Regions from separate parts of the Homo sapiens genome. Here regions 2, 3, 4, 5, 6 and 7 are each linked to region 1. Evidence: promoter capture Hi-C in 16 types of primary human blood cells and fetal thymus (Javierre and others, 2016). All regions are on one chromosome and are shown on one strand. Each heading gives the region's core, a stretch centred on a gene start or on the middle of the fragment in contact. The rest is flanking DNA. Distances are from core to core; before and after follow the strand shown. Region 1 holds the start of APOA5 (apolipoprotein A5). Region 2 overlaps RNF214 (ring finger protein 214). Region 3 overlaps RNF214 (ring finger protein 214). Region 4 overlaps PAFAH1B2 (platelet activating factor acetylhydrolase 1b catalytic subunit 2). Region 5 has its middle 17 kb from the start of SIK3. Region 6 overlaps SIK3 (SIK family kinase 3). Region 7 overlaps SIK3 (SIK family kinase 3).

What was found. The method cuts DNA at HindIII sites, captures the fragments that hold promoters and counts their contacts. A CHiCAGO score of 5 or more calls a contact.
Region 2: a contact is called between a fragment that was not itself captured here and the fragment with the promoter of APOA5 in region 1, in 2 of 17 cell types (non-activated CD4 T cells and erythroblasts). The highest score is 6.9, in non-activated CD4 T cells.
Region 3: a contact is called between a fragment that was not itself captured here and the fragment with the promoter of APOA5 in region 1, in 15 of 17 cell types (naive B cells, total B cells, naive CD8 T cells and 12 more). The highest score is 14.2, in naive B cells.
Region 4: a contact is called between a fragment that was not itself captured here and the fragment with the promoter of APOA5 in region 1, in 15 of 17 cell types (neutrophils, naive CD8 T cells, activated CD4 T cells and 12 more). The highest score is 16.9, in neutrophils.
Region 5: a contact is called between a fragment that was not itself captured here and the fragment with the promoter of APOA5 in region 1, in 17 of 17 cell types (naive CD8 T cells, total CD8 T cells, activated CD4 T cells and 14 more). The highest score is 18.6, in naive CD8 T cells.
Region 6: a contact is called between a fragment that was not itself captured here and the fragment with the promoter of APOA5 in region 1, in 16 of 17 cell types (fetal thymus, erythroblasts, non-activated CD4 T cells and 13 more). The highest score is 15.6, in fetal thymus.
Region 7: a fragment that was not itself captured here is called in contact with the fragment with the promoter of APOA5 in region 1 in 13 of 17 cell types (naive CD8 T cells, neutrophils, total CD4 T cells and 10 more); the score reaches 12.0 in naive CD8 T cells.

What each region holds. Positions count from the first base shown.
Region 1 is chr11:116,789,725-116,794,082 of GRCh38, forward strand. It overlaps APOA5 (apolipoprotein A5), which reads right to left and starts at 2,155. Exons shown (of 3, transcript NM_001371904.1): 1 at 2,088-2,155; 2 at 1,862-1,973; 3 at 1-1,343. The coding sequence starts at 2,136. The coding sequence ends at 404. The HindIII fragment of the contact is 6,000 bases long and covers 1-3,089 here.
Region 2 is chr11:117,280,541-117,284,898 of GRCh38, forward strand. RNF214 (ring finger protein 214) reads left to right here. Exons shown (of 15, transcript NM_207343.4): 9 at 774-864; 10 at 1,060-1,158; 11 at 1,354-1,730; 12 at 1,864-1,996; 13 at 2,206-2,310; 14 at 2,575-2,670. Among named protein-coding and RNA genes, the nearest start is that of BACE1, 34 kb to the right of the region's middle. The HindIII fragment of the contact is 5,984 bases long and covers 1-4,358 here.
Region 3 is chr11:117,241,053-117,245,410 of GRCh38, forward strand. It overlaps RNF214 (ring finger protein 214), which reads left to right. Exons shown (of 15, transcript NM_207343.4): 5 at 3,393-3,533. Among named protein-coding and RNA genes, the nearest start is that of RNF214, 11 kb to the left of the region's middle. The HindIII fragment of the contact is 1,890 bases long and covers 948-2,837 here.
Region 4 is chr11:117,152,785-117,157,142 of GRCh38, forward strand. The region is part of intron 2 of PAFAH1B2 (platelet activating factor acetylhydrolase 1b catalytic subunit 2); the gene reads left to right. Among named protein-coding and RNA genes, the nearest start is that of PAFAH1B2, 11 kb to the left of the region's middle. The HindIII fragment of the contact is 8,620 bases long and covers 1-4,358 here.
Region 5 is chr11:117,113,029-117,117,386 of GRCh38, forward strand. No RefSeq gene overlaps it. Among named protein-coding and RNA genes, the nearest start is that of SIK3, 17 kb to the left of the region's middle. The HindIII fragment of the contact is 2,465 bases long and covers 668-3,132 here.
Region 6 is chr11:117,092,523-117,096,880 of GRCh38, forward strand. The region is part of intron 1 of SIK3 (SIK family kinase 3); the gene reads right to left. Among named protein-coding and RNA genes, the nearest start is that of SIK3, 3.7 kb to the right of the region's middle. The HindIII fragment of the contact is 1,538 bases long and covers 953-2,490 here.
Region 7 is chr11:117,053,628-117,057,985 of GRCh38, forward strand. The region is part of intron 1 of SIK3 (SIK family kinase 3); the gene reads right to left. Among named protein-coding and RNA genes, the nearest start is that of SIK3, 43 kb to the right of the region's middle. The HindIII fragment of the contact is 6,637 bases long and covers 1-4,358 here.

The DNA.
Region 1 (4,358 bases), core at 905-3,404:
GCAGTGGCCACCAGGCAGCCAGAAGTGACTAGAGCCAAACTCCAGGATGTAGTGGCACAGGCTTCCAGCATCACGGCAAACAGGCTTGCAGATAATCACCCACATGCATGGTGCCTCTCCCTCCCTACTCCCTCACCCTTGAATGGAGTAACTCATGAGCATTCCCAAATGAGCACTGGGAGGCTGGGTTTGCAAAGCCTGGTGAATGTAATGCATCCAGATTGGGGAGTCGCAGGAGGCTGGATGTGCAGGAGACAGCAGCCCCTTTGGTGGCCTCCCTGTCCTGCACAGGACCTTCCACCCTCCACCCAACAGGCCACTTTCAAGGACTGAACCATGCTAGAGGCTCAGAGCCAAGGCTCCCCAGACAAGGAGCTGGGAATGGGCCTGGGCAGGTAGATCCTCAGGGGTCCCCCAGATGGCTGTGGCCCTGGTCATGAAGGCTGTGAGTGATGTCTTCCCACAGGTCATCCAGACGGGCCTGCAGCTTGCTCAGAACCTTGCCACTGTCTGTTTGTTGAAACTCTGGGGCGAAGGCACTGTGGCCTGGTGGAGGTGGCGCCAGCTGCTGCTGGACCTCCTCAGTCTCCTGGTCGATGGCGCGAGTGAAGGCAGCTATCTGCAGGTAGGTGTCCTGGCGGAAAGCCTGAAGTCGCTGGCGCACCTCCTCGGAGAGCATCTGGGGGTCCGGGCCGGCCCCTTCCTCAGTCCCAGTGCCTGCAAAGGCTCTGCTGAGCTCTTCGCGCAGCTGGTCCAGGTTCTGCTGGATGCGTGCGTGCAGGGCCTTGGCCTTGAGCGTGAGCTTCCGGGAGAGCACCTGCACGCAGCGACTGAGGCGCGCGGGGCTGGCGGGGGCGTGCGGAGCCACACTGCGGTGCAGCTCCTGCACGTGGCGCCCGATGCCGCTCACCAGGCTCTCGGCGTATGGGTGGAAGAGCTCTTTGAAGCGGCCGGTGTGGTGCACCACGCGGCTCTGCAGTCCCTGCAGCAAAGCCCAAGCCTCGTCCACGCCCCCCAGCAACTGGGCCTTGGTGTCTTCCCCCACCACGCGCAACTGCTCCTGCAGCTCCTGCACGCGCAGGGCCACCTGCTCCATCAGATCCATCGTGTAGGGCTTCAGTTGCTGCCGCAAGCCCTCCAAATTCCAGCCCACCAGCTCGTGCGCCTCTGCCATGTAGGGCTGGAGGCGAGCCTTCACCTCCTCCAACTCCTCCTGCAGCTGCCGCCGCATGCCCACCGGGTCCTGTGGGAGCCGAGGAGCCTCGCTCCCACTCAGAGGCCTCAGCTTTTCCAGGAACTTGTTCATATTGTTGAGGTCTTGCTCAAGGCTGTCTTTCAGGGTCCTGGAGAAGGGGACAGATATCCAGGCCGTCAGACTGCTAGCCTCCATCATCTCCTTTGTCCCCAAGTCATCGCGCACTGATCCTCTGGGGGAACCAAGGACGCAGGGCGTTGGCCCCAGGGTCGAGGGCTCTTGTCCTAGCCCTGGCCAGTAACAACTCACGCACGAAGCACAAACACATTGCCCATACAAATCCAGACCTACAACACTCTCCAAAGAAACATAGATGCGCCACATCATCCTTTGATTCTGGGGACTGCAGCGGGCGTCCTCCCGATTGATCCCAGGTCCCGCGCCTCAGTGAGCAAGGGGGCAACAGCTACGGAGTTGTCAAGGCGGGGGCTGCAGGCAGAGGGCGCTAAAGAGCCCAGGATGGCCGGGATCTGCAGACAGAGCTAGCACCGCTCCTTTCCTCTGTCCCAGCAGCGGCCACAGAGGTTGAGGCAGCAGAGGCAGGTCATCATGGCATGGCCCAGCTGTCTCCTCCCTTCGCCTACACCCCTTCCCCTGGGCACTCACGCGGGCTCGCGAGCCATCTTCTGCTGATGGATCTGCTCCACCCTGCCTTTGTCCCCGCTGGTCTGGCTGAAGTAGTCCCAGAAGCCTTTCCGTGCCTGGGTGGCCGAAAACGCTGTGGAGAGGGACTAGGTAATCAGGGCCTGGGCTCTCCTCCCCCAGGGTGGACAGGGCCCTCTGGCCAGCCTCCACCCACACCCCCACGTTGAAGTCAGGGTCGGAGACCCACCTGAAAGAAGAGCCAGAGCCCAGGTGAGCACGGCAGCCATGCTTGCCATTACCTGCTCTGAGAAGACAGGTGGAGGGAGGCCTGGTTAGGGGAAGAAGGAGACGAAGGGACATGGCGCAGGGGACTTGCCCAGGGGGCCTCTGCAGGGGCAACTGCCCGAAATCCTGTTACCCCTTCCTTGGGCTGGGGAGCACAGAGCTGTTGGGGCTCAAGAGGACTGACCTAGGTGAGTCAAGGAGGCTAGGGTGTCTTCCTCAGACATGGGAAGAGGGCGTGCTCTTGCTACCTCAGTCACATAGCAGGGAGCGTGGTGCTCTAACCCCTTCGCAAAGGTCCCAGACCCCAGGAACAGTTCTCTAGGCCACTTCTACCACCTCTCCCCTGCCCACCTGTCTCCCTCCCTCCCATTTCATGGTGGAAAAACTGAGCCATAATGAGGGCGAAGAGGCAACTCTGCCAAAATGTTCCAAGAGGACGTCTTAGGGGCCACCCCAGGCTCTCCCCTGAGGCCACCTGCAATGCCCTCCCTTAGGACTGTGACCCCCATCCCTCTGCCCCAGCTGCTCACCTGCTCACGTCTGGGCACAGAGAGCAGACATTCTGCTTTATACTCCAGGGCCCTGAGCCTCTGGCACCAATTGCTCTGAGTAAATACCACGTGGAAGTTCAAAAGAAGTTGACCTCAGCTGCCTCCCAGCACTCACCTCCTGCCCTTTCCCTGGCACCCAGAGGGTTAATGAGTGCCCTGGTATCAGGGGCTGCCCCAGTAGAGAAGTGCTTCCCAGGAGCTTTACGGGGGATGGGGCTGAACTCCTCACCCAGTTTCTCCCAAACCCCATGACCTTTAACCTTCCCACTGACCTGCTGGCTGGCCCACCAACAGAGAAGAACCTGTTTGTCTGCCAAGGGCCCCTCTCTTACACAACTACCCAGAGTCACTGTGTCCCAGCCGGCAAGATGGACAGTGTTCACCTACCAGCCAGAACCCGAGCAGCCCCTGAAAGCTTCACTACAGGTTCCGCAGGCATCCTCAGCCAGCATTCATAGGGTTAAAGACCAACCACATCCCTCTTTATGAAACAATCCTGGAACAAGCAAGGGAAGCCAGGCAGGGTGAAGATGAGATGGCAAGAGGCATCTGGGCCAGGGACTCTGAGCCCCAGGAACTGGAGCGAAAGTGAGATTTGCCCCATGAGGAAAAGCTGAACTCCACTCGCAGGGCCTCTGAGGAGAGCAAGCCCAAATGCTCAGATCTTCTCTGATGACACACCCACTCCGTCTACAGTACTCATACACACGTTCACAAGCTCCCGATTCTTGGTCCTAAATGCATCTTGAATCAATCCCCTCTCCTCCATTTCCACTACCATCATTGCACCAGTTGTCTGTCACCTTGATTGCATTCATAGCCTCCAACAGGTCTTTCTACCACACTCCTGCCCATTTAATTCATCCTCCACTGTGGCTCATCCTGACTCATTTCCAGTCTCATCTGCTGCCACATAAAACCACGGCATTCCCTGAGCCTTTATACAGGCTTCCCTCTGCTTGAAATAGCCTATCCCCTGGTGAATATATATTCATTTTTTAGAGTTAGTTTGTATTAGTTAGAATTAGACTTGGCTGCAAGGGACATATATATGTGTGTATATATATACACACACACATGTATATTTTATATTCTTGCATACATATATGTATATATATGTGTGTGTGTATATATACACATATATATATACAAGATACTGCTCTTACCACTCATACTGACATCCCATTGGCCACAAGTTAGTCACATGGCTACACTTAGCTGATATATATGTGTATATATATATGCAAGAGAATAGCTTAAACAAAATGGAGTCTTATTTCCTTCTCATGTAAATGTAGGCCAGCTCGGGCTGCTTTTATCTTGTTGCACTATTATCATCAACAAGACGCTCATATCCAAGTTCCAGCTGCTTCACCTCCAGCTACCAAGTTCACCTCCCAGGGAACAGGAAGGAGGAAAAGGAGAAGGACATGTTCCTTCCTTTTAAAGACACATCCCAGATATTGCCATTACCACTTGTACTGACATCCCATTGGCCACAACTTAGTCACATGGCTACACTTAGCTGAAAAGGAGGCTGGGAAATATAGTTTTTATTTTGGATGGCTGTATGCCTAGCTGAAAAAGGACTCTATTACTCAGGAAGAAGAGAAGAAAGGATTTGAGGGAACAGTAGTAGCCCCTGCTACACAGCTCCAGTATCACTCTGAATGCCTTCTTCG
Region 2 (4,358 bases), core at 1,063-3,562, 490 kb after region 1:
ATGCTCCTGTAATCCCAGCACTTTGGGAGGTCGAGGCAGGAGGATCACTTGTGCCCAGGAGGCCGAGGCTGCAGTGAGCTTTGATGGCATCACTGCACTCCAGCCTAGGTGACAGTGAGACCCTGTCTCTAAAAAATAAAAAATAACCAGCATCTGTTAACCTATAAAGCATAACAATGATCTTTGGAGATTCATTTCCTATGTAGTCATTTATTTTCTTTCTGCCATGGAACTTGGAGGACCCTTGTGGCATTTTCAGGCAGACAAGAACCCTCTCTCTGTTGTTGGTTCTCTTTCTCAATTACTTAAAAGATACTGGAGTTAAAGTGAGGCAAAGGAATTCGAATCTTGGGCTTCTCCTGCACCTGCTCCCACCTCTTCTCAACGGCAATTAGCCAGCTACTATTTTGCTTTTGCTATCTCAGAGAATTAGGAATAGGGCTTTTTTTTTTTTTTTTTTTTTAATGACAGGGTCTCCCTCTGTTGTGCAGTGGTGCCATCTTGGCTCACTGCAACCTCCATCTCCTGAGCACAAGCCATCCTCCTACCTCAGCCTGCCAAGTAGCTGGGACTATAGGCGTGAGCCACCACACCTGGCTAATTTTGCATTTTTTTAAGAGACAGGGTTTAGCCACATTGCCCAGGCTGGTCTAGAACTCCTGAGCTCAAGTGATCTGCCCGCCTTGGCCTCTTGTGCTGGGATTACAGGCGTGAGTCACTGTTCCTAGCAGGGCTTTCTTTAAATCTGTAAATTCCTGTTGGTTTCTTGAAAGGTCAACTCCCCCAACACTGGAGACAGTTCGTTCCAAACAGGAGTGGGAGACGAGACTGAATGGAGTTCGGATAATGAAAAAGAATGTTCGTGTAAGTGTATCTATGAGTCATCATTCAGTCAGTGTTAGTCTGTGCTTAACACTTCCAGCAATTGGGAGGTAGCCTTTTGCATTGCCATTTGGGGCCTATCCTACTATTCCTTTTGTTTTCCTGATAATGGATGGTGCTGTCTTTCTAGAGAGCCTGAGTCAGTTCAGCAGTAAAAATAATCCTTTTTTTTTTTAGGACCAATTTAATAGTCATATCCAGTTAGTGAGGAACGGAGCCAAGCTGAGCAGCCTTCCTCAAATCCCTACTCCCACTTTACCTCCACCCCCATCAGAGGTAAGAGAGTGGCTTTGGGGGGAAGTTCACCTTTCTGTGTTGGTAGCAGCAGCAGAGTCTTCTGCGTGTTCTTTTTATGAAGATATTGGGACCATCCCTATTCAGTGCAAGAGTTGTTCATTGATGTCTTCTCCAGTTTCCTAAACTTTCTTTTTCTTCCTTTCTCTCTCGTCCTCTACCTCTTCTCCTCTGCAGACAGACTTCATGCTTCAGGTGTTTCAACCCAGTCCCTCTCTGGCTCCTCGGATGCCCTTCTCCATTGGGCAGGTCACAATGCCCATGGTTATGCCCAGTGCAGATCCCCGCTCCTTGTCTTTCCCAATCCTGAACCCTGCCCTTTCCCAGCCCAGCCAGCCTTCCTCACCCCTTCCTGGCTCCCATGGCAGAAATAGCCCTGGCTTGGGTTCCCTTGTCAGCCCCCACGGTCCACACATGCCCCCTGCCGCCTCCATCCCACCTCCCCCAGGCTTGGGCGGTGTTAAGGCTTCTGCTGAAACTCCCCGGCCCCAACCAGTAGACAAACTGGAGAAGATCCTGGAGAAGCTGCTGACCCGGTTCCCACAGTGCAATAAGTAAGTACCTTCAAGGACTGATTCAGATGTCTCTATCAGAGAAATGCTTATGGGTTAAAACAGAGGAGGTTACATGGGTGTTCCCCGTGGGTATAGCATAGGCTTTCTCTCCCTCAACATTTTTTTTCCTCAGGGCCCAGATGACCAACATTCTTCAGCAGATCAAGACAGCACGTACCACCATGGCAGGCCTGACCATGGAGGAACTTATCCAGTTGGTTGCTGCACGACTGGCAGAACATGAGCGGGTGGCAGCAAGTACTCAGGTGAGAAAAGCCACTTGGGAGAGAACTTAGGCATGTTGAGGGCTGGGGAAGAGGTAGATTTCAGAAAAATGTGGGGTGGGAAGAAGCATTCCAGTCAGAGGTAGCTAGTCTGCTTTTTTCCTTTCCTGGACTGGGAAATAAGTGATTTTTGTGATATGCTCTGTTACTCAGACTCTCTTCCCTTACTCTGACAATGTTTCTACCTACAGCCACTTGGTCGCATCCGGGCCTTGTTCCCTGCTCCACTGGCCCAAATCAGTACCCCAATGTTCTTGCCTTCTGCCCAAGTTTCATATCCTGGAAGGTCTTCACATGTAAGACTCTTTTTCTTTGAACACTGTGATATGGAGAAGCTGGAGGTGAGGAAGGAGTGGGTTTACAGGTGGAGTGCAGGAAGAAACCATCAGTTGGGTTATTTGCAGCCCTACTGGGAAAATGCAAATATTTTAGGCAAGAATCTATATTTGGATTTTTGTTTCTTTTGATATAAATCTTTTTGCTGCATGGAATTATGGGCATAAAAGGCAAGGAGACCCAGAGGTTCCTTACCTTTTGATCATGCCGCCTCTGTTCTACAGGCTCCAGCCACCTGTAAGCTATGTCTAATGTGCCAGAAACTCGTCCAGCCCAGTGAGCTGCATCCAATGGCGTGTACCCATGTATTGCACAAGGAGGTAGGTGTTACAGACCTTCCTCATTTTCTACACTTTTTCTTCTGACAGCTAAAATAATTTTTCTTTCTCATTTTCTACTCTTTTTTTTCCCTGACAGCTAAAATAACTTTTCTTTTACTGTGTTGGTGCTCATCATTAATATCTTTTTTGTTTTGTTTTGTTTTGTTTTAGACAGAGTCTCGCTCTGTTGCCCAGGCTGGAGTGCAGTGGTGTGATCTCAGCTCACCGCAACCTCCACCTCTCAGGTTCAAGTGATTCTCCTGCCTCAGCCTCCTGAGTAGCTGGGACTACAGGCGCCTGCCAACATGCCTGGCTAATTTTTGTATTTTTAGTAGAGACAGGGTTTCACCATATTGGCCAGGCTGGTCTCGAACTCCTGACCTTGTGATCCGCCCATCTCAGCCTCCCAAAGTGTTGGGAGTACAGGCGTGAGCCACCGTGCCCAGCCTTTTTTTTGTTTTGTTTTTTGAGATAGGGTTTCTTTCTGTTGCCCAGACTGGAATGCAGTGGCACGATTATAGCTCACTATAGCCTCAATCCCCTAGGCTCAAGGTGCTTCAGTCTCTTGAGTAGCTGAGATTACAGGCACATGCCATCATGCCCAGCTAATTTTTTTTTTCTTTTTTAGTAGAGAGAAGGTCTTGTTATGTTGCCCAGGCTGGTCCCAAACTCCTGGGCTCAGGTGATCCTCCTGCCTCAGCCTCCCAAAGTGCTGGGATTACATGCGTGAGCCAGTGCACCTGGTCTCTAATGTCTAATCATAAGGTTTTCAGTAAATTGTGGCTTAAACATTAGCAGAATTCAGAATACTGCAGTTAGGATCTCTCAGCTTTTTACCCCATTCCCTTCAGGGGACTGGATAAGCAATTCATACTGCGCACTAAATAACTTTCTTGGAAAATTGACAATGAGTGATAATCCCACATATCTAACTATTGTTCAAAATGTAGCATTGTCAGAAGACTTTGCCTAGATGAGAGGAATGGAATGGAGGACCTGAGTATGAGATTAGTAACTCCATTAACAGAACAGCTTGGAGGGCTTGCCGGTTAGAGATTATCTTCACAGACTGACAAGTCATTCCTATTTTTTTATGTTGCCAGCAGAGTTAAGTCTCTTAGTAGCAGGGATGATTCCCTCTTAACAACATTTTGTTTTGTTCATTTTGCTTTTCCAAGAGGTAGAAACTGAATTTACATCTAAATTCTTGGTAAGAAAAATTCCTGAATAAGATTTGAGGGTGTCAGGTCTTAGAACAGAGATGCTCATCTCAGGCAAAATGGATCCTAAGGGGGAGCAAGCCACACTAGACATTCAACAAAAAGCAGCATCATGAACATTTTCAACAGCTCATTGTTAATGTTCCTCATAAAAAGGACAGGTTCACTTGCACTGAGGATTCTTTTAGGGTAAGAGCCATTGAATAGCCCTTCTTGGGGCCAGGCGCGGTGGCTCACACCTGTAATCCCAGCACTTTGGGAGGCTGAGGCAGGCAGATCACTTGAGGCCAGGAGTTCGAGACCAGCCTGGCCAACAAAGTGAAACCCCATCCCTACTAAAAATACAAAAATTAGCCAGGAACGGTGGTGAACGCCTGTAATCCCAGCTACTCGGGAGGCTGAGGCAGGAGAATAGCTTGAACCCAGGAAGCAGAGGTTCCAGTGAGCTGAGATCACACCACTGCACGC
Region 3 (4,358 bases), core at 643-3,142, 450 kb after region 1:
GCCTGTAATCCCAGCTACTTGGGTGGCTGAGGCATGAGATTAGCTTGAACCTGGGAGGCAGAGATTGCAGTGACCCGAGATCGTACCACTGCACTCCAGCCTGGGTGACAGAGTGAGACTCTCTCAAAAACAAACAAACAACAACAAAAAAACAAAAATTAGCCTGTAATCCCAGCTACTTGGGAGGTTGAGGTAGAAGAATTGCTTGAACCCAGGAGGCTGAGGTGGCAGTGAGCTTCTTGCTTTAGGCCGGGCACAGTGGCTCATGCTTGTAATCCTAGCACTTTGGGAGGCCGAGGCGGGTAGATCACGAGGTCAAGAGATTGAGCCCATCCTGGCCAATATGGTGAAACCCCATCTCTACTAAAAATACAAAAATTAGCTGGGTGTGGTGGCGCATGCCTCTAGTCCTAGCTACTCAGGAGGGTGAGGCAGGAGAATTGCTTGAACCCGGGAGGTAGAGGTTGCAGTAAGCTGAGATTGCACCACTGCACTCCAGCCTGGTGACAGAGTGAGAATCTGTCTCAAAAAAAAAAAAAAAAAGTTCTTATTGTAGCTTTCTCTTGAGCTTTATGGAATAAATCCAGTTCCTTTCCTGCTTGTTAGCCATGTGTATATTTGAAGTTTTTTTATGCCTCCTGCTCTTATTCTCTTACTCCCCAAGTTCAAACCTTTCCAGGTGAAACATCCTCAGATGTTTTTAGTATTCTTTTTGATACTATTTTGATACTATTTTCCATTTCTTTATCATCATTCTGGTTACTTTCACTTAGACATGTTCTATTTTATCAATATTTGTTTTAAAAAGTGATCTTGAGAACCATATATAATAGTACAGATACAGTATAATTACTTTATAATACAGTGGGATCTCTCAGTATCTCTCATTCTAGACACTATTTCTTAAGCTTACATTGACTTATTTTGGCAGTTTTTTCATACTGTTAAGCTTTTAGTCAAATTCCATCCAGTCTTTTTTTCATGTATTATTTACTTGTGTCTTTTTAATTTTATCCCCAGATAGTTGGCTTTTGAAGAGAACGTCACACTTACCTTTGTTAAAATGCTCCCTTTGATCCATCCCTGGCCTTTTGTGGCTAAAACTTCCACCTTTAAGTATATGGATATCTAAATGTACACTTTTTAAAGGGAAGGTAATGCTGGGAAAGGCACCCCAGGAAGAGGTCTTTAGGGTAAGATATGTTAATTTATAAAGAGTGGTATAAAAAGGGAAAGTGCTTGTAGCAACCAGATAAGAGAGTGGATATTTGGTGCAAGTTGAAGAAATTGAAGGGCATACGGAAAAAAGTTACTGGTGTACATTAACCAGATGAAGCCAAGAAAAGTTTTAAAATAGAGACTAGCAACTTGGGACTTAATTGTAACAGTCAAGTAGATGAAACAGGAACGAATGGAAACCCAGCAAGTTACTGGGCCAGAAGAGGCCCAGGGTTGAGTTTTGTTTGGCTCTATCTTTTGGGTGGTAGTGAGGTCCACATGCTTTTAAAAAGGCAGTGAGGCCGGGTGCAGTGGCTCACACCTGTAATCTCAGCACTTTGAGAGGCCAAGGCAGGGGTATCACCTGAAGTCAGGAGTTCAAGACCAGCCTGGCCAACATGGCAAAACCCCATCTCTCCTAAAAATACAAAAATTAGCCGAACGTGGTGGCGGGTGCCTGTAATCCCAACTACTCTGGAGGCTGAGGCAGAGAGAATTGCTTGAACTCGGGAGGCGGAGGTTGCCGTAAGCCGAGATTGCACCACTGCACTCTAGCCTGGGCGACAGAGTGAGACTCTGTCTCAGAAAAGAATAATCTACTGGTTTCAACTTTTCTTTGGTTAAGATCCTCTTTCAGAATCTTTTGGAAACTTTGAATTCTTATCTCAGAAAAATATATACATTCATCAGTTGCAGAGAGTTCAAAGATTCCGGGGTCCACCTGTAGAAGCCAGGTTCAGAATCCCTGGAAAGGTGTGATGCTGAGTAATCAGCTGTTTGGGACACATTAGTCACATTTCAGTACATGGACTAAAGATTAGCTTGTCCCAAAGCCAAGGTCCTATCTTGAGAGCCTTTTTTATTAATTAATTAATTAATTTATTTATTTATTTTGAGACGGAGTCTCGCTCTGTCACCCAGTCTGGACTGCAGGGGCACAGTCTCTGCTCACTGCAACCTCTGCCTACCAGGTTCAAGTGATTCTCCTGCCTCAGCCTCCCAAGTAGCTGGGATTACAGGCATGTGCCACCATGCCTGGCTAATTTTGTATTTTTAGTAGAGATGGGATTGCACTGTGTTGGCCAGGCTGGTCTCGAACTGCTGACCTCAAGTGATCCACCCGCCTCAGCTTCCCAAAGTGCTGGGATTACAGGCGTGAGCCACTGCGCCCAGCCTTGAGAGCCTTTTGTTAAAATGATTATAATAGGATATTTTCCTCATTTGTTTTAAAAATTTTTTTTCTTTGAAAATGGTTATTATTTAATGAAAAAATTCAGTTTAGTGCTCTCAGTTTAAATATTATATGGGCTACTTCATACTAAATGTGTTTTAAGTTGACCCTCTTCAAATTTTAGTGTCCCTTTGAAAGGTAACCATTGATTTTCTTGATTTACTGACATGGGGGTGGCAGAGCTAAACTGTTTTCAGAAGCACTTCTATTTATTTATTTATTATTGTTATTTTTTGGTAGAGACCAGGTATTACTATGTTGCCCAGGCTGGTCTTCAGCTTCTGGCCTCAAGCAGTCTTCCTGCCTTGGCCCCTCAAAGCTGAGATTATAGGCTGGAGCCACCGTGCCTTGCCTAGGAGTCTCTCTTCTAATCCCGACTTTATATGAAAGCTTGCTGAGTTGTTCAGTCTGAATACCAGGTTCCCAGGCCTCTTTAGTGGATCCATCAGTTTTCAGTGTTGTTAACCAGTAAGGAATCATGTTCCCGGACGCTTTTTTGAGACAGAGTCTTGCTCTGTCGCCTAGGCTAAAGTGCAGTGGCACGATCTCAGCTCACTGTAACCTCTGCCTCCCAGGCTCAAGCGATCATCCCACCTCAGCCTCCCAAGTAGCTGGGACTACAGTGGAGTACTGGCATGCCCAGCTAATTTTTGTATTTTTTTAGAGTCCAGGTTTTGCCATGTTGCCCAAGCTGGTCTCGAATCCCTGAATGCAAGTGATCCGCCCGCCTCAGCCTCCCAAAGTACTACAGTTATAGGTGTGAGCCACCATCCCCAGCCAATCTCATCATATTTTACTGAATATAGCCACATATGGCTAGTAGAGTAGCTTCATTATTGGATAGTGCGGTCATAGAGCTCTATACAATGCCTTGGACAGGCACTGGTGAATGTTTCTTGTGATTAAATTAGGAAATAAGCTTTTCTTGTCTTGTTCATAATAGGATAAAATGATGACAGAGAGAACCCTGTTGAAAGAGCGTTACCAGGAGGTCCTGGACAAACAGAGGCAAGTGGAGAATCAGCTCCAAGTGCAATTAAAGCAGCTTCAGCAAAGGAGAGAAGAGGAAATGAAGAATCACCAGGTATTTTGCTTATATTGAAATTGTCAATGAGTTAAGCAACAGTCTCTGATCAAACTTTAATTTTTTAAAAAACTTTATTTATTTATTTATTTATTTTTGAGACAGAGTCTCACTCTGTCACTCAGGCTGGAATGTGGTAGCATAATCTTGGCTCACTGCAGCCTCTGTCTCCTGGGCTTAAGTGATCTTCCCACCTCAGCCTCCCAAGTAGCTGGGAACACAGGTGTGTGCCACTATGCCTGGCTCATTTTTTGTATTTTTGGTAGAGACGGGGTTTTGTCATGTTGCCCAGGCTGGTCTTGAACTCCAGACTCAAGAAATCCACCCGCCTTGGCCTCCGAAAGGAGGCCTTTTTATTTCAGTTAACTCAAAAATAAAATTAAAGTTTGAGCCATCCATGCCCGGCTCAAACTTTAATTTTATTTTTGAGTTAATTGAAATAAAAAGGCAAGGCGGGGTGTGGTGGCTCACACCTGTAATCCCAACACTTTGAGAGGTTGAGGCGGGTGGATCAGTTGGGTCCAGGAGTTCGAACCAGCCTGGGCAACATGGCAAAATCCCATCTTTACCAAAAATACAAAAAATGAGCCGGGCGTGGTGGTGTGCACCTGTGGTCCCAGCTACATGGGAGGCTGAGGTGGGAGGATCGCTTAAACCCAGGAGGCAGAGGTTGCAGTGAGCCGAAATTGTGCCACTGCACTCCAGCCTGAGTGACAGAACGATACCCTGTCTCAAAAAAAGTATTAATACTCATAGACTTTTTTTTTTTTTTGAGACGGAGTCTCGCTCTGTCACCCAGGCTGGAGTGCAATGGCACAATCTCGG
Region 4 (4,358 bases), core at 980-3,479, 360 kb after region 1:
ACTCTAGGCTGGGCATGGTGGCTCACGCCTATAATCCCAACACTTGGGGAGGCCGAGGTGGGCGGATCACAAGGTCAGGAGTTTGAGACCAGACTGGCCAATATGGTGAAACCCGTCTCTACTAAAAATAAGTTAGCCGGTTGTGGTGGCAGGCGCCTATAGTCCCAGTTACTGAGGAGGCTGAGGCAGGAGAATCGCTTGAACCCAGGAGGCGGAGGTTGCAGTGAGCCGAGATTGTGCCACTGCACTCCAGCCTGGCAACAGAGCAAGACTGCATCTCAAAACAAACAAAAAACAAACAAAAAAACTGTAACCTTGTGACCCGTGACAGGTTGTACAAAGGGGGATTTTAATAGTCAACAAGAATTTGTTACTGTAAGTAAAAATGTAATGTTACAAATGTCCTGCCTCTTCACCATTCTGATGTTGGAACTGGGAAATATTTTAAGTTTTTTTATTTTGCAGTAATTTCAAAACTACACAAATGTTACAGAAATTTAGAAAGAAGTATCTTCATCTAGACTCACCAATTGTTAACATTTTACCGTATCTGCCTAATTATTGTGTCTGTATCTATTTTGTTTTAGTTTTTTTTTTGTTGTTGTTGTTGGTTTTTTGAGATGGAGTCTCACTCTTGCCCAGGCTGGAGTGCAGTGGTGCAATCTTGGCTCACTGCAGCCTCCACCCCCCTGCCACCCTGGGTTCAAGATATTCTTGTGTCTTAGCCTCCCAAGTAGCTGGGATTACAGGCGCCCGCCACCACGCTCAGCTAATTTTTGTATTTTTAGTAGAGACAGGGTTCTGCCATGTTGGCCAGGCTGGTTTCAAACTCCTGACCTCAAGTGATCTGCCTGTCTAGGCCTCCCAAAGTGCTGGGATTACAGGCGTGAGCCACCATGCCCTGCTGTGTCTATATCTATTTCTATATGTATATACTAACGTAGTGGGTTTTTCTGAAGCATTTGCACTCATTTCCCTTATCCCTGAATATTTCAGCATGTTTTCTTAAAAACAAGGACTTTTCTTAAATAACTATAGGATAGTTATTAAAATCATGAGATGTAATATTGATATAATACTATTATTACTTAATCCAAAGACCATATTCAGATTTCTCCAGTTGTCCCAATATTTTTTTCTTTTCTTTTTTTTTTTTTAAGACAGGGCAGTATACAGTGGCTCATGCCTGTAATCCCAGCACGTTAGGAGGCCAGGGCAGGTTGGGAAGTCAAGGCGGGAGGATCACTTGAGCCCAGGATATTAAGGCTACAATGAACTATAATTGTGCCACTGCACTCCAGCCTGGGTGACAGATTGAGACCTTATCTCAAAAAGAAAAAAAAGAAGTATACCACAGTTGATTTGCCCATTTTTTCTTTCATGGACATCTGGATCATTTATACCTTTATGAATAGTAACTAGGCCAGGAGTAGTGACTCACACCTGTAATCTCAGCACTTTGGGAAGCTGAGGCAGGTGAATCGCTTGAGCCCAGGAGTTCAAGACGAAGGAAAGGAAAAGAAAAGAAAAGTAGTAACTAAACTAGATATCTTCATTATTCTTGTCTTAAGTTAATAGGCTTCAATGAGCTCTGGCTGTAGAAAAATCAGTCAAATGGAAGAAAAACACAAATATTTTAAAAATTTTTTTGGAGACAGAATCTTGCTCTGTCAAGCATGCTGGAGTGCAGTGGCACCATTACAGCTTGCACCATTACAGCTTGCACCATTACTGCAGCCTTGGCTTCCCGGGCTTAAGTGATCCACCACCGCTTCTCAAGTAGCTGGGACCACAGGTGCATGCCACCATGCCGGGCTAATTTTTTTTATTATTTTTTGTGGAGATAGGGTCTCACTATATTGCCCAGGCTGATGATCTTGAACTCTCGGCCTCAAGTGATCCTCCTGCCTCAGCCTCCCAAAGTGTTGGGATTACAGGCATGAGCCACCGTGCCTGACTTTAAAAATCTTTTAAGCATTGCATACTGAAATATTTATACTTGGAATGATATATCCTCAGTTTGCTTCAAAATAGTCTGGGGATGGAGTGGGGCAGTAGTTGGGAGTATGACTGAAATAATGCAGGCCATAAATGATTGCTGTAGCTGGTAATTGATACATGGAGGTTTATTCTCTCTGAATGGAGATGTTATTCTCTCGGCTTTTGTATACATTTGATATTTTGCGTAATAAAAAGGTTTTGTTTTGTTTTTGTTTTTGAGATGGAGTCTCACTGTGTTACCCAGGCTGAAGTGCAGTGGTGTGATCTTGGCTCGCTGCAACTTCTACCTCCTGAATAGCTGGGATTACAGGCACCCACCTCCATGCCCGGCTAATTTTTGTGTTTTTTTAGTAGAGACGAGGTTTCCCCGTGTTGGTCAAGCCGGTCTTGAACTCCTGACCTCAGGTGATCCACGCACCTTAGCCTCCCAAAATGCTGGGATTACAGGCGTGAGCCACCACATCCCTGGCCTAAAAGGTTTTCTTAAGGGTAGTGTTGAAAGACTTGCCAAATAGAATAGAAATCGTATCAAAACATATTAACCAGAAAAATAAGGCTCAGCAGCAGACTAAGGAAAATAAACGCAGTAAATATTATAGATGAAGCATAGATACCTTATATTATCAATAAAAATATCCTAAAGGAACTAATATATAAGTATTTCAGTAGACATGATAGGAAGTGTAACTTTGTTTCCAAAAAGTGTAAATTAAAACATTAGGAAGAGAAAGAAAGAGAAACGTTAATATCTAATTCAGGTTCAAGTACAGTAAAACCAGTTCTAATATATTGCTGGAGTCCTTACAGATTAGCATATAGCCCTTTTGTTGAGAATTTGGAAATATGTCCAAAATCCATAAAAATACTGATTTATTTTGACTAAGAATTTCCAGTGTAGGAAAAATTATATATATATATATCCCTTTATCACACTTACTAGATTCACAAAAAGAGGCCACTGGCAAGTCTGTCCACAGGAAGAAGAGTGTGACCTGGGAGGCTGAGGCAAGAGGATTGCTTAAGCACAGGAGTTCAAGACCAGCCTCGGCAACATAGACCCTCATTCCCCTCACCCCCCAAAATAGCAAACAAAAATGTGTCGTTGAGTGCATTCAGTAGAGTATATTATGTGTAGTGGCTCATACCTGTAGTCCCAGCACTTTGGGAGGCTGAGGCCAGTAGATTGTTTGAGGCCAGAAGTGCAGCCTAGGAAACACACCAAGACCCTGATTCAACAAAAAATAGAAAAAAAAATTCACTGGGCATGGTGGTGTGTGCCTGTAGTCCCAGCTACTGGGGGGCCAAGGCAGGAGGATTGCTTGAGTCTGGGAGTTTGAGACTGTAGTAAGCTGTGATCATGCACTGCACTCCACCCTCGGTGACGGAGCAAGACCCTGTCTCTAGAAAAGAATATATGGCCATTAAAAGTTATGATTATAAAAACTGCATTGCTACATAGAAAAATGGTTCTAGTATGATGTTAAGTGCAACTATAACGGCTACCATTTATCAAGTACCTAGTGGGTGCCAGTCAATAGCTGGGACTCTTTAACAACTCTAAAATGGAGTTGCCAGCAGATGTTAAAACCAAGACACAAATTATGTACTTTCTTAAGATCACTGGACTGGAAAGTAGGTAAGCTAGAATTTGAATGTTGGTTTTTCTGGCCCCAGACATATAGTGCCAGAAAGAGGTGTCCATGATGCTTAAACTATGTAAAAGGGGTAACAGAGGACATGAAAAAAGATGAGGAGAAAACACTCAAGCATGGTCATAGTTACTAGGTTAAGGTGGTAGGATTATAGATGTGTTGTTTTGGTCCTTTCTATTTTTCCAAATTTATTACAACTATTACACTTTAGGAGAAAAGTACTAGAACCTTTAGCATAGCAGTCTTAAATTCCACGACTCTACAAATGCAAGCTATTTTATTGGTGTTGAAAGGTAGTTGGGGCCGGGCACGGTGGCTCAGGCCTGTGATCTCTCAGCACCTTGGGAGGCAGAGGTGAGTGGATCGCTTGAGTTCCAGACCAGCCTGGGAAACATAGCAAAACCCCATCTTTACAAAAAATGCCAAAAATAAAAGCCGGATATGGTGAAATGCGCCTGAGGCTGAGGCAGGGAGGATCACGTAAGCCCTCCCCAGCCTGAGCCTGGGAGGTTGGGGCTGCAGTGAGCTGCCCCTCATAGCTGCCACTGTACTCCAGTAGTCTGGGTGACAGAGTGAAACCCTGTCTCAAAATCTCAAAAAAGAAAAAAAAAAAGAAAGGTAGTTGGTACTACAGTACCTGCAATAGGGAGTTGACATGATAGGAAAAAGCACCTATTCACTAAACTTTTATTCTTTCTCATATCT
Region 5 (4,358 bases), core at 650-3,149, 320 kb after region 1:
TAGTGTGGCACTATTCACAATAGCAAAGACTTGGAACCAACCCAAATGTCCATCAATGATAGACTGGATTAAGAAAATGTGGCACATATACACCATGGAATACTATACAGCCATAAAAAAGGATGAATTCATGTCTTTTGTAGGGACATGGATGAAGCTGGAACCATCATTCTCAGCAAACTATTGCAAGGACAAAAAACCAAACACCACATGTTCTCACTCACAGGTGGGAATTGAACAATGAGAACACTTGGACACAGGAAGGGGAACATCACACACTGGGGCCTGTCATGGGGTAGGGGGAGTGGGGAGGGATAGCATTAGGAGATATACCTAATGTAAATGACGAGTTAATGGGTGCAGCACACCAACATGGCACATGTGTACATATGTAACAAACCTGCACGTTGTGCACATGTACCCTGGAACTTAAAGTATAATAAATAACTTCCAAACACCAGGTATTTATGGATTCATTGTTTGGTAGAATTTAAACTCTCAGAGCAGGGTATTCAAACTCCTTTGCAACCTGGCCTCAACCTACTTTTTCAGCCTGTCACGTTTCATTTACTTTCCCACCCACCTTTCCCCACCCAGGACGACTGCAGGTTGTGTGCTTACTCCTTAACTTCTACTCAGCTTTTCCTTGTATTTGGAATACCTTGGAAGCTTTTCCATCTGTTATTTAAAATTCTACTACTCCTTGGCCAGGCACGGTGGCTCATGCGTGTAATCCCAGTACTTTGGGAGGCTGAGGCAGGTGGATCACGAGATCAGGAGTTCGAGACCAGCCTGACCAACATGGTGAAACCCCGTCTCTACTAAAAATACATATTAGCCGGGCGTGCTGGCACCTGCCTGTAATCCCAGCTACTCAGGAGCTAAGGCAGGAGACTCGCTTGAACCCGGGAGGCAGAGGTTGCAGTGAGCCAAGATCGCACCACTGCACTCCAGCCTGGGCGACAGAGTGAGACTTTGTCTCAAAAAAAAAAAAAAAAAAAATCCACTACTCCTTTAAGGTACAGCTAAACTCAGGATTTTTACAATCCGTAAAAATGTTTCTGGGTCTCCAAACATTTTGCCCATTCAGAACATAGAGGATTGCCTGAGCTCAGGAGTTCGAGACTAGCCTGGACAATATGGTGATACCTCGTCTCTACTAAAGTACAAAAAAAATAGCCAGGCGTGGCAGTGCATGCCTGTAATCCCAGCTACTCGGGAGGCTGAGGCAGGAGAATCACTTGAAACCGGGAGGCAGAGGTTGCAGTGAACTGAGATCACACCACTGCACTCCAGCCTGGGTGACAGAGTGAGACTCTGTCTCAAAAAAAAAACACAGGCTTTGGAGATGAAGTCCCTGGGTTCAAATCCTGGCTCCATAACTTATTAGCTGTGTGATCTTGAGAAAATAACCACTCCAGGCCTCTGTTCTTCAACTGCAAAATAGATAAAATAATAAAACCTGTCCAGGCGCCGTGGCTCATGCCTGTATCCCAGCACTTGTGGGAGGCAGAGGTGGGTGGATCACTTGAGGTCAGGAGTTCGAAGTCAGCCTAGCCAACATGGTGAAACCCCGTCTCTACTAAAAATACAAAAATTAGCTGGGGGTGGTGGCTGGAGTCTGTAATCCCAGCTACTTGGGAGGCTGAGGCAGGAGAATCATTTGAACCTGGGAGGCGGAGGCATAGTGAACCAAGATTGTGCCATTGCATTCTAGCCTGGGCAACAGAGCGAGACTCCATCTCAAAAATAATAATAATAAAACCTATATCATAGGAATGTTGGAAGGATTAAATAAATTACTATATATGAAGTACTTAAAATAGTGCTTGGTACAAAATTGGTGCTCTGTAAAATGACTACAATTATTATAATTATTAATCTACTGTAGCTTTTTTTTTTTGAGATGAAGTTTCACTCTTGTTGCCCAGGCTGGAGTGCAATGGTGCAATCTTGGCTAACCGCAACCTCCACCTCCCAGATTCAAGTGATTCTCCTGCCTCAGCCTCCCGAGTAGCTGGGATTACAGGTGTGTGCCACCATGCCCGGCTAATTTTGTATTTTTAGTAGAGACGGGGTTTCTCCGTGTTGGTCAGGCTGGCCTCAAACTCCCGACCTCAGGTGATGCGCCCACCTCTGCCTCACAAAGTGCTGGGATTACAGGCGTCAGCCCACCACGCCCGGCCTATTGTAGCATTTTTAAGTGGAACTTGCATTTCGTGTATGGCTGTCAGTCTAACTAGACTGCAATCCCCAGAGTCAGGAACCATATCTGTTTAGTTCACAACTCTATATCCAGCACATAACATTGTGCCTGAAAAAAAAATTATATAAATGTAAAAGTTTTATGGAGAATACAAAACATCACTGAAAAACCTAAAAGAAGACATATGCCATGTGTGTCAATGAACCTAATATTGAAAAAAACCTGTCTCAAAAAAAAAAAAAGGGTTGGGCGCGGTGGCTCACGTCTGTAATCCCAGCACTTTGGGAGGCTGAGACAGGCGGATCACGAGGTCAGGAGATCGAGACCACTCTGGCTAACACGGTGAAGCCCTGTCTCTACTAAAAATACAAAAAATTACCCGGGCGTGGTGGCAGGTGCCTGTAGTCCCAGGTACTTGGGAGGCTGAGGCAGGAGAATGGCATGAACCCGGGAGGCGGAGCTTGCAATGAGCCGAGATCGTGCCACTGCACTCCAGCCTGGGCCATAGTGTGAGACTCCGTCTCAAAAAAAAAAAAAAAAAAGAAGACACTTAAGCTGCATAAAAGCTAAAAATAATTTCCCTGGCTGGGCGAGGTGGCTCACGCCTGTAATCCCAGCACATTGGGAGCCTGAGGCAGGTGGATCACCTGAGGTCAGGAGTTAGAGACCAGCCTCACCCATATGGTGAAACCACGTCTCTACTAAAAATTAAAAAATTAGCTGGGCATGGTGGCGCGTGCCTGTAATCCCAGCTACTCGGGAGGCTGAGATGGGAGAATAACTAACTCAGGAGACAGAGGTTGTGGTGAGCCAAGATTATGCCATTGCACTCCAGCCTGAGTGACAGAGGGAGACTCTGTCTCAAAATAATAATAATTTCCCCAAAAAGGTAGTTGAATCTCTTTCTGTCCCCAAGACAGGTAGGAAGCTTTATTTTTTTCTCTGCCATTGTTTATTAGATCCTTTCTAACAGGTCTAGGTAAAATAAAGCCTTTTTTTTTTTTTTTTTTTTTTTTTGAGACGGAGTCTCGCTCTGTCACCCAGGCTGGAGTGCAGGCCTCTTAAAAAGTGTCTGGGCCGGGCATGGTGGCTCACGCCTGTAATCCCAGCACTTTGGGAGGCCGAGGCAGATGGATCACAAGGTCAGGAGTTCAAAACCAGCCTGGCCAATATGGTGAAACCCCATCTTTATTAAAAATACAAAAATTAGCCAGGCATGGGGGCAGGTGCCTATAATTCCAGCTACTTGGGAGGCTGAGGCAGATAATCACTTGAACCCAGGAGGCGGAGGTTGCAGTGAGTTGAGATTGCACCACTGCACTCCAGCCTGGGTGACAGAGTGAGACTCCATCTCAAGAAACAACAGCAACAACAACAACAACAAAACTTGTGTGCCCGCTCTTGCCAGTTGTATTCAACATGGTCCTGGAGGTTTTAGAAAGGGCAATTAGGCAAGAAAAATAGATGAAGTTGGCCGGGCGCAGTGGCTCTTGCCTGTAATCCCAGTACTTCAGGAGGCCAAGGCGGGTGGATAGCTTGAGCCCAGGAGTTTAAGACCAGCCTGGGCAACATGGAGAAACCCCGTCTCCACCAAAAATGCAAAAAATTAGCCAGGCATGGTGGCATGTGCCTGTTGTCCCAGCTACTTGGGAAACTGAGGTGGGAGGATCCCTTGAGCCCAGGAAGCAGAGGTGGCAGTGAGCCACCTCTCAAAAAAAAAAAAAAAGCATTCAAAATGGGAGCTAAAAAAATAAAACTATCTCTATTTGTATATGACATGATCTTTCTATTATTATTGAAGTCCATTTTCTTGAATGTTGTACAAAAAAAGTATAAGTAGAACCAAAAGTACATAAGCATTATCATATTTCTTTACCCCACTATCTAGTTCTTTATATTAATTTTACTATTTAAACAATAGAGAATAGGTGGCAGGCCGGGTGTGGTGGCAGATGCCTGTAGTCCCAGCTACTCGGGAGGCTGAGACACGAGAATCGCTTGAACCCGGGAGGCGGGGGTTGCAGTGAGCTGAGATCGTGCCACTGCACTCCAGCCTAGGTGACAGAGCAAGACCCCGTCTAAAAAAAAAAGAAGGAAAGAAAGAAAGAGAGAGAGGGAGGAAGGGAGGGAGGGAAATAGGTGTCAATTTAGG
Region 6 (4,358 bases), core at 472-2,971, 300 kb after region 1:
TTTAATTTTTTTACATGTCCCTTGTCTGTCTCCTTCTACTAGAAAGCTCCAGAAAGGCAGATGCTTTTTGTCTCCCTTGTTCATTGGTGCACTCCAGACCCTAGAATGGAACCTGACAAAAAATTTTCATTCAATAAATGTGTTGAATGAATAAATGATTAAGGGAAAGGTTCCATCTCTATGCAGATGTCTTAGGTGTTGTTTTACAGTTACAGTGGCTCTGGTGAGTAGAAAGCATTTCTTTTTCTTTTCAAAGCATCCATTTTGTTCTCTTTTACGCGATGAACTAGAAAACATTAGCCAGACTGAAGCCTGAAAAATGAAAACAGCACTTCTGGCACAGAAATAACTAGTCTGGGCACCTCTGGCTTGAGCGAGATCTATGACTTTCTAGGGAGCTGGCACCAAAGTCAAAATGTTAAAATAAACATCTTTGATGTAGAAAATGGAATACTGGTATTTTGACTCTGGAGAGACTAGTCTCAATCAGTCTTAGCTCTTTACAAAATTTCAAAAACGTTTAGCAACCCCATCACCACTGTATCAAACTGAACATAATCATCTTTCAATAGTCACTTCTAGATTGTCTAGGGATGGGGCTATCTTCCTCAAATGTATCTAATGTAAATTCTGCTTTCAATTTCTTTTTGACATAATTCTCTCCTACTTACCAAATGAATCTTGTTTTCAGTTTTCTAATGGGTGAAAGCATCATCTCATGTGCTTCGTTAAACTCTTCTTTAGAGGTGAAAATAATGCTTTTAGCCCACTTTGACTTGTTCTCCTCATGGAAATGAGTTTGCACTAAACCACACCGATGTGTCTGGCTAGTCAATATTTGGAAAGGGGTCATAGGGCAAAATGTCTTCTCTGTGTAATATTTAAAGTTAAGAATTCTGACCTTGGCCGTCTAAGGCCTTTGCTTGTGCACGCAAGGGCAAATGTGTCCTTAAGCTTGCAGAAACATTTCTTAAATATTTCACTTAAACCTAATTTAAGTGGACCTCTGGAGAAAAGACTGCACTCAACTCTGTTCCATCATCAACATAACAAAAATTAGTTACACAAAACACACTGAAAATTCAAGGCAGCCCAAAGCAAAAGCCAGTGTTGGTCACAGTTTTCATTAGATAAGTCACATTGCTATTTAAAAAAAAAAAAAAAAGTTTAACTAATGAAAATTTATGTTTTAAAATGCTGATTTCATGAGATTAGCCAGCCTGTACCCTATACAAATTAAATCCAACTATCTCAAAGTGGCACCTGCAATAGTAGCAAACTTTTTTTTTACCAGGAAAGTCTATCGTCAGGATGGCATCTACCTACACAAAACTAATGGCATATACATTCATGAATCGTGCCCAAGGGGTGAGAAGCAAAAAAAGGAGGACTATTATTATGTCCATAATATTATTATGTTACTAAAACATCTGATAACGATGATGATGATGGTAATATTTACGTCATGCTATTAGGGCACCATGCTGCTCTAAGAGCTTTACATACACTATCTTCTTTAATCTTCATAACACCTAAACTTGTGAGGTAAGTACTACTGTCATCCCACTTTACAGATGAGGAAACCCAAGCACACAGAAGTTAAATAACTTCTCACAGCCTAAAAATATCCAACTATTAAGCAGCAAAAGATTCAAACTCAGGTTGCTTTATCCAAAGCTGGAACTCTTACCACAAACCAATAACAGGCAAGTGATATATATTTGTTGAAATATAGTTTAAACGTATTTGGCCAAAGGCTTTTATAGTCATGCATACTTTAAAAAATGCATATGGGCCAAGCATTTGGGTTACAGACTCATGCCTGTAATCCCAGCACTTTGGGAGGCTGAAGCAGGAGGATCACTTGAGTCCAGAAGTTCAAGACCAGCCTGGGCAACATAATGAGACCCCCATCTCTACAAAAAAAATTTAAAAATTAACCTGGTGTGGTGGTATAAGCCTGTAGTCCCAGCTACTTAGGAAGCTGAGGCAGGAGGATCTCTTGAGCCTGGGAGTTGGAGGTTACAGTGAACTCTGGCAGTGTCACTGCACTCTAGCCTGGGTGACAGAGTAAGACCCTGCCCCAATATTTTAAAAAAGGAAAAAAAATGCATACAAAATCTATCTACTCTTTGTTCCCAATCATCCAACTAGTGAAGGTATAATTAGGCACAGGCAACAGACTACCTGCAATTTGAGAGCAGAAAACATTCTTTTTTAAAAATATCTGTAATACTTTATAGTTTCCTACCAAAAAAAAAAACAGAGCCAGAGAACCTCAGGCTAAGTAAGGCTCTTCCAAAGAAAAGGAAATCAAAGCAGGTAGGACAAAGACAGCCAGGGTGAGCTACTAACCAAAGTATGTCACAGCTGAACATTCTCTCCTGGTAACTGTTCTGCAGTGCCGCTCTAAGCACTGCAGTGCTGCCAATATGAAGTCTGAGCTCATGAATGCCGTGCTGCAAAAGTAACCAACAACCAAATAGGAAAAGCTTCACTTTTCTCTACTGATTTTATTCATCCCAGGATCCCACTCTAGACGGTTTGAGAGTTAACAGAATTTGGGAAAGGGCCAGCTTAACCACGCAGTATTGGATGGAGTGCAGTATCCTACTCAATAAATGAGGTTTACTTTAGTCTCTTAGTTCTTGGAATGGGTCATGTGTGTTTAAAAAAAAAAAAAAAAAAAAAAAGGAGGGGGATCATAATTATTTCTAATGTTCAGAAAATACCTATTACCTAACCTCCTTCAGCCAACACAAGTATCATCTGAATTACCTCTGTCTGACTGTTATATATGGTTATAAGAAAACCCAGACCATTTCCTACAAGGGGAAAAAAAAATCACACACCTCTAAAAGACAAAACAACAAATGACACATTCTGGAGACAGATGGGGGAAAAAAATAACTCTCTGTTTCCAAATGACCCCTCTGCAGAAGTAAGATAAAGGCTGCAGTGCATGGGGAGAAAAAAAATCAACCTGAGTTAACTGAAGCAGCAGCTTCGGCAACTTCTAGTACCTATGCACCTTCACCATTGTTATATAACCAAACCATAACCTTAATAGGCCATCGTACTGTATGTCGACAGCTGTTAGGCACATCTAAGCTGTCCGCATTTGAGAACCCCTTCCAAAGTGGATTCAGAGAAGCATGGAGCAGGCCAAAATATGCTCCTAGTTCACCCAGAGCACGTGACAACTCCTTGTGAATTAAGCTTCACTCATGTAGTCAGAGTAATTTAAGCAGCAAAAGATATAGCACTTGTAACTGTAACTAGGAAATTGCACACTGCTACAGAAACACAAATGAATGCTGGTGTGGCTCCTTCACACATGCAACTCATTGTCCAAGCCATTTCAGTCTCATTCAAGACTTTGAATATTTCCATACATAGGAATTGCACAACTGCATACCACAAATGATCAAAGATAAAAACCAACATAAACAGTGACACCCGTTTGTAAACAAGCCAGTGTTTAAAATGCTGCAGTCCTAAAGGATACCAAGGTCTCAGAGAAAAACTATGAAAAACACACGCACGCACATATACACACACATGAAAATTAGAAAGCGGGCAGACCAGCCATAATTAGGCACTGGCTTTGCTGACTACTGAAGATAGAAATGTCTCTTTTATATTAAAGCCAAGAATCAACTGTTTGCAATTACATTTACGAAAACATTCAACCCTGTCTGTAACAGATTTTATCAATATTTTGGTGTATCCAAGGGCTGGAAGATTCAAAATTCTTTAAATCATGAAACCATAAACCAGGCAACCAATTAAGTTCATGGAGACTATCCCCCAGAGGTCAGAGCAAAATAACCACAGGAGCACAAAGTGATTACACAGAAAATAGGCAGAAAAAAAGGAAAGAAATAGCAAAACAAGGAACAAGGCATATTGTTTGTAAATGTAAGTTTGCCTTGGCTAATAGTCAACTAGACTGGAAACACGGTGAGGGGCTGGGGTGGCAAGTGAGGAGCACACCAAAGTCTTGGCTCAATCGACTTCCCCTGACTTCCCCTCAGGGTCTGAGGGAGCCCTGGACTTTGGTATCTCATTCAGCTCTGACCTGCAGACTGGAGGCCCTGTGATAAAAACGGACAAAAAGGCTGAAGAGGGCCCTCCAGAGGAAGTGAAACTGACCAATCAATTCGCCACAGCCACCCACCCTGACACCCTGGTAAGAAGGGCCCCTTGTAGCCTCAGGCAGAAAGATGGTGGGGAAGGAACTTCAGGTTGCAAGTGATCAGGAGAGAAGGCCTAGATAAGTCACTGGCTTCAGAAAACAAGCCACTGCCAAAAAAGCAAAAACAAGGTAGGTCATGACAACCAGAGGCTAGGCTGAG
Region 7 (4,358 bases), core at 1,206-3,705, 260 kb after region 1:
CCACTATATTGCCTCTTTCCCCCCTCCCACCCTACCCCCTCCACTGAGACAAGGTCTTACTCTGTCACCCAGGCTGGAGCACAATCATGGCTCACTGCAGCCTCAAACTCCTGGGCTCAAGTGATCCTTCTCCCTCAGCATCCAGAGTAGCTGAAACCACAGGCATGTGCCACCATGCCCAGCTAATTTTTTTAGTTTTTGTAGAGATGGGGTCTTGCTGTATTGCCCAGGCTGGTCTCGAACTCCTGAGCTCAAGCAATCCTCCCTACTTGGCCTTCCAAAGTGCTGGGATTACAGATGTGAGCCACCACACCCAGCATTTTCTTTCTATTTTTTTCAAAGAGACAAGGTCTTGCTATGCTGCCCAGGCTGGCCTCAAGCAATCCTCCTGCTTCAGACTCCCAAGTAGCTAGGACTGTGGGTATATACCTCTCACCAGCTTATATTGCCTCTTATAATGAGGGACTAACTAATGTTGCCTTGGATGGCAGTTAAGACTAAAGAGAAAAGAGCGTAGAAGATATATTTGAGACAGACCACTGAAGAATCACCAGGAATTCACCAGACAGACTAGATGTTTGGGGTGGAAGGCTGAGTGCTTATTAGCAGGGAGTGCTTGAGGGGACAACCCTCTAAGCAAAAAGAAGGCAGGTACAGCAACAGCAGGTCAGGGACAAAGGTATGAGATTTAGAGTACAGGGTGCAGTCACAGAACAGTCAGTAGTCTGCATATACTGTAGGACCCATGGGTCCCAGAACAAGAGGGGAGGCTCTAAAGATGACTGTGGTGTAGTGGGCCTTGGAGGCTTTATATTTCAGGTAAGAGAGACCCATCAGAGGCCTTTCTGCTGAGTGATATGAGCAGATCTACCTACTATAAAGATAACTCAGGATGAAAGGTACAAGATGGCCAAGAGGCCAGGAGAGCAATTAGGAGATTACCACAATAATTGTGTCAAGAAATGATAAGGAGTGGTTGGATGCAAGCACATGTTTCGGAAGCACAATCAACAGTACTTGATAGGCCAGGTGTGGTGGTTCACACCTGTAATCCCAGCACTTTGGCAGAGGTGGGAGGATCACTGGAGCCCAAGAATTCAAGACCAGCTTAGACAACATAGTGAGACCCCATCTCTATAAATAATTTTAAAATAAATAAAAATTAAGATGTTTAAAATGAAAATACAAAATAACAGTACTTGCTGACTGGTTGCATATGAAGGATAAGGAAGACAGGCAGACAGGCAAAGCTATCCTGAGGCTCTTTTTCTGGGCAGAACAGGACAAAAAGGGGATCAGCATTTAAAAGGAATAATAATAATAGCAACTAATATTTATTAAGATATTAGTATATACCAGCACTATGCTAAATACTTTTACAAGAATTATCTCATTTAATATTGATAAAATAAGTTCATTATCACCCTTTCATAAATGGAGAAATGGAGGCTTAAAGAAAATAAGTAGTTTATTCACGGACACAGTCACTAAGCACTGAAGCCACAGAAAGACTCTGACTTTAGATAAACTGAGTTTAAGATATCTGGGGAGGCATCCAAATGTAGATTTCTAACAGGCAGCTCAATATTTTTGTACGAACTTAAGCTAAGAGTACCACAGATACAGATTTATAATAACAATGTAACTATACTGTTGTTACTATTCCTATTATTAGCATTTATTAAGCACTTAGTGTACATGAGACACTATTTTAAATGTTTTACACACATTATTCATTTACTCCACACAATCCTGAGATAGGTAGCTCTAGTCTCCCCACTCTTACTTACAGAGAAAGAAACAGAAACATAGAGACAAAGTAAATCATTCCGTGTCTCTTAGGGAGAAAATAATGGAGCCAGATTCAAATCCTGGTCTCTCTGGTTTGGATGAGGGAACAGAAGAGAAGGTGGGGCTACAGGTGGGTTGGATAGAGGAGCCAAGGACAAAATCCAGAAGAATATAATCGCTTAACAAGTAGGCAGAGAAACAGGCACTATCTCATAGGATGGTTGTAAAGATAAGTAAAAGCACACAAAGGACTTGGCTAGGGCCACAGTTTGAATGTCTCCGCCTCTAAAAGTCAGATGTTGCCAACGTGATGGTATTAAGAAGTCGGGCCTTTAAGACATCATTAAGTCATGAGGGTTCCTCCGTTCATGAATGCAATTAGGTGCCCTTAAAAATGGGCTTGATGGAGGGAGTTACTCCCTTTTTGCCCTTCTGCCTTCTGCCATGTGAGGACACAGCATTCAAGGCATCGTCTAAGAAGCAGAGACCAAATCCCCATCAATGAACCTGCCAGTGCCCTCCCAGCCTCCAGAACTATGAGAAAATAAAATTCTGTTATTTATAAATTACCCAGTGTCAGGTATTCTCCTATAGCAGCACAAAAGAACTGACAGCAACCAAAGCTCTATCAGTTTGGAGGATGTGCTACAGGATGAGGAGACAGAAGAGAACCAACAGGGAAGTAGATATATTAAATGGAAAAGGATTAGTTAATAAAACAAAGTCCCTGGATTAAGAAAATGTGGCACATATACACCATGGAATACTATTTAGCCATAAAAAAGGATGAGTTCATGTCCTTTGTAGGGACATGGATGAAACTGGAAACCATCATTCTCAGCAAACTATCGCAGGGACAAAAAATCAAACACCGCATGTTCTCACTCATAGGTGGGAACTGAACAATGAGAACACTCGGACACAGGAAGGGGAACATCACACACTGGGGCCTGTTGTGAGGTGGAGGGAGTGGGGAGGGATAGCATTAGGAGATATACCTTATGTAAATGATGAGTTAATGAGTGCAGCACACCAACATGGCACATGTATACATATGTAACAAACCTGCACATTGTGCACATGTGCCCTAGAACTTAAAGTATAATAAAAATATATAGATAGATATAGATATAGATATAGATATAGATATAGATATAGATATAGATATAGATATAGATATAAAGTCCCCAAGAAGAAGTGGCAGAATGGGATCAGGACAGTGCAGGTGAACACACAGAGCTTCTATCTCACCTGCTAACGAAAGTATAAACTTGTCTGGAGGATGGTCTGGCCAACTCTTACCAACATTTCAAATATGCCCATCTTTTGATCTCCTCTTCTAAAACTTGGCTGTGCATATATACCAACCAAGGATATACCTACAAATTCAAGGATGGTCCACCTTTGGCAATATTGGTGAAAATGAAAAATGGAAGGAACTTAAAAGTCCATCAATAGGGGAAACGTGAAATAAAGTAATACACATCTATATAATAACATTTTACATAGCCATTTAAAAGAAACAGGTCAATACGCTGACATGAAAATATTTCTATAGTTTATTTTTTAATTAACCATTTCTTTAGAGATAATTGTAGAGTCACAGGCAGTTGTAAGAAACAACAGAGATCTCCTGTACCCTTTACCTTGTTTCCCTCAATGGAGACATCTTGTGAAACTATCGTTCAATATCAAAATTAAATTTTTAAAAAACTTAGATAATACTACATACATTACCCTTGTGTATTTTAAGTGTCCACAAAATGTGTACATGTACAGAAGAAGATTTAACTACTAGCAGTTGACACCTGGAAGTATAAAACGTTAAAGGAGGAAAAAATGGAAGACGTATACCTTTACTTTATGTACATCTGCACTAATTTTTCTTACGAAGTACATAAATTACTCCTAGAATATACAAGGCAAACAGGTAGAGGGGTTAGATTTTGAAATAAGTACAGGCACCTATTCTTTTAACCAAGGGAGTTTAATATTTGGAAGCAGTGGGGAGGAAAAGTGAAAAGGATCACACTGAAACCCTCTATTTCCTCAATTTAGTAGACTGGCAAGCTGTGATTCATTCAATAGGAACAAGTACTCGGTCACAGACTACTCCATGCCAGGCTCCGTCCTAGGCCATGGAAATTAACCAGACAGGTATGATTTCTGACCTCGAGGAGCTTAGAGCCTACCAACAAAGGTAGGCATTAACAAAAAACATTACACAGTTATACTCACCATTACAGTAGAGCACAGCAGTTTAGAACGTGGGCACTGGGGTCTGCCCGGGTTCAAATTCCAACTCTGCTACCAAATGGCTGTGTGACTTTGGACAAGTGACTTAACATTCCTCACTTCAGTTTCCTCATCTATAAGATGCAGATAATTCTAGGTCCTACTTATTTACCCACCTATACAACTCATAGGGTTGCTATGAAAACCAAAAAACTTCCTATGTGTAAGTGCTAAGAACAGTCTCTGCAACTCATAAACACTCAAAGGTTGCTGCTATTATTGTTGTTACCATCATTACTATTAATAATTTCAGAGGGAATCTAATCTACCTT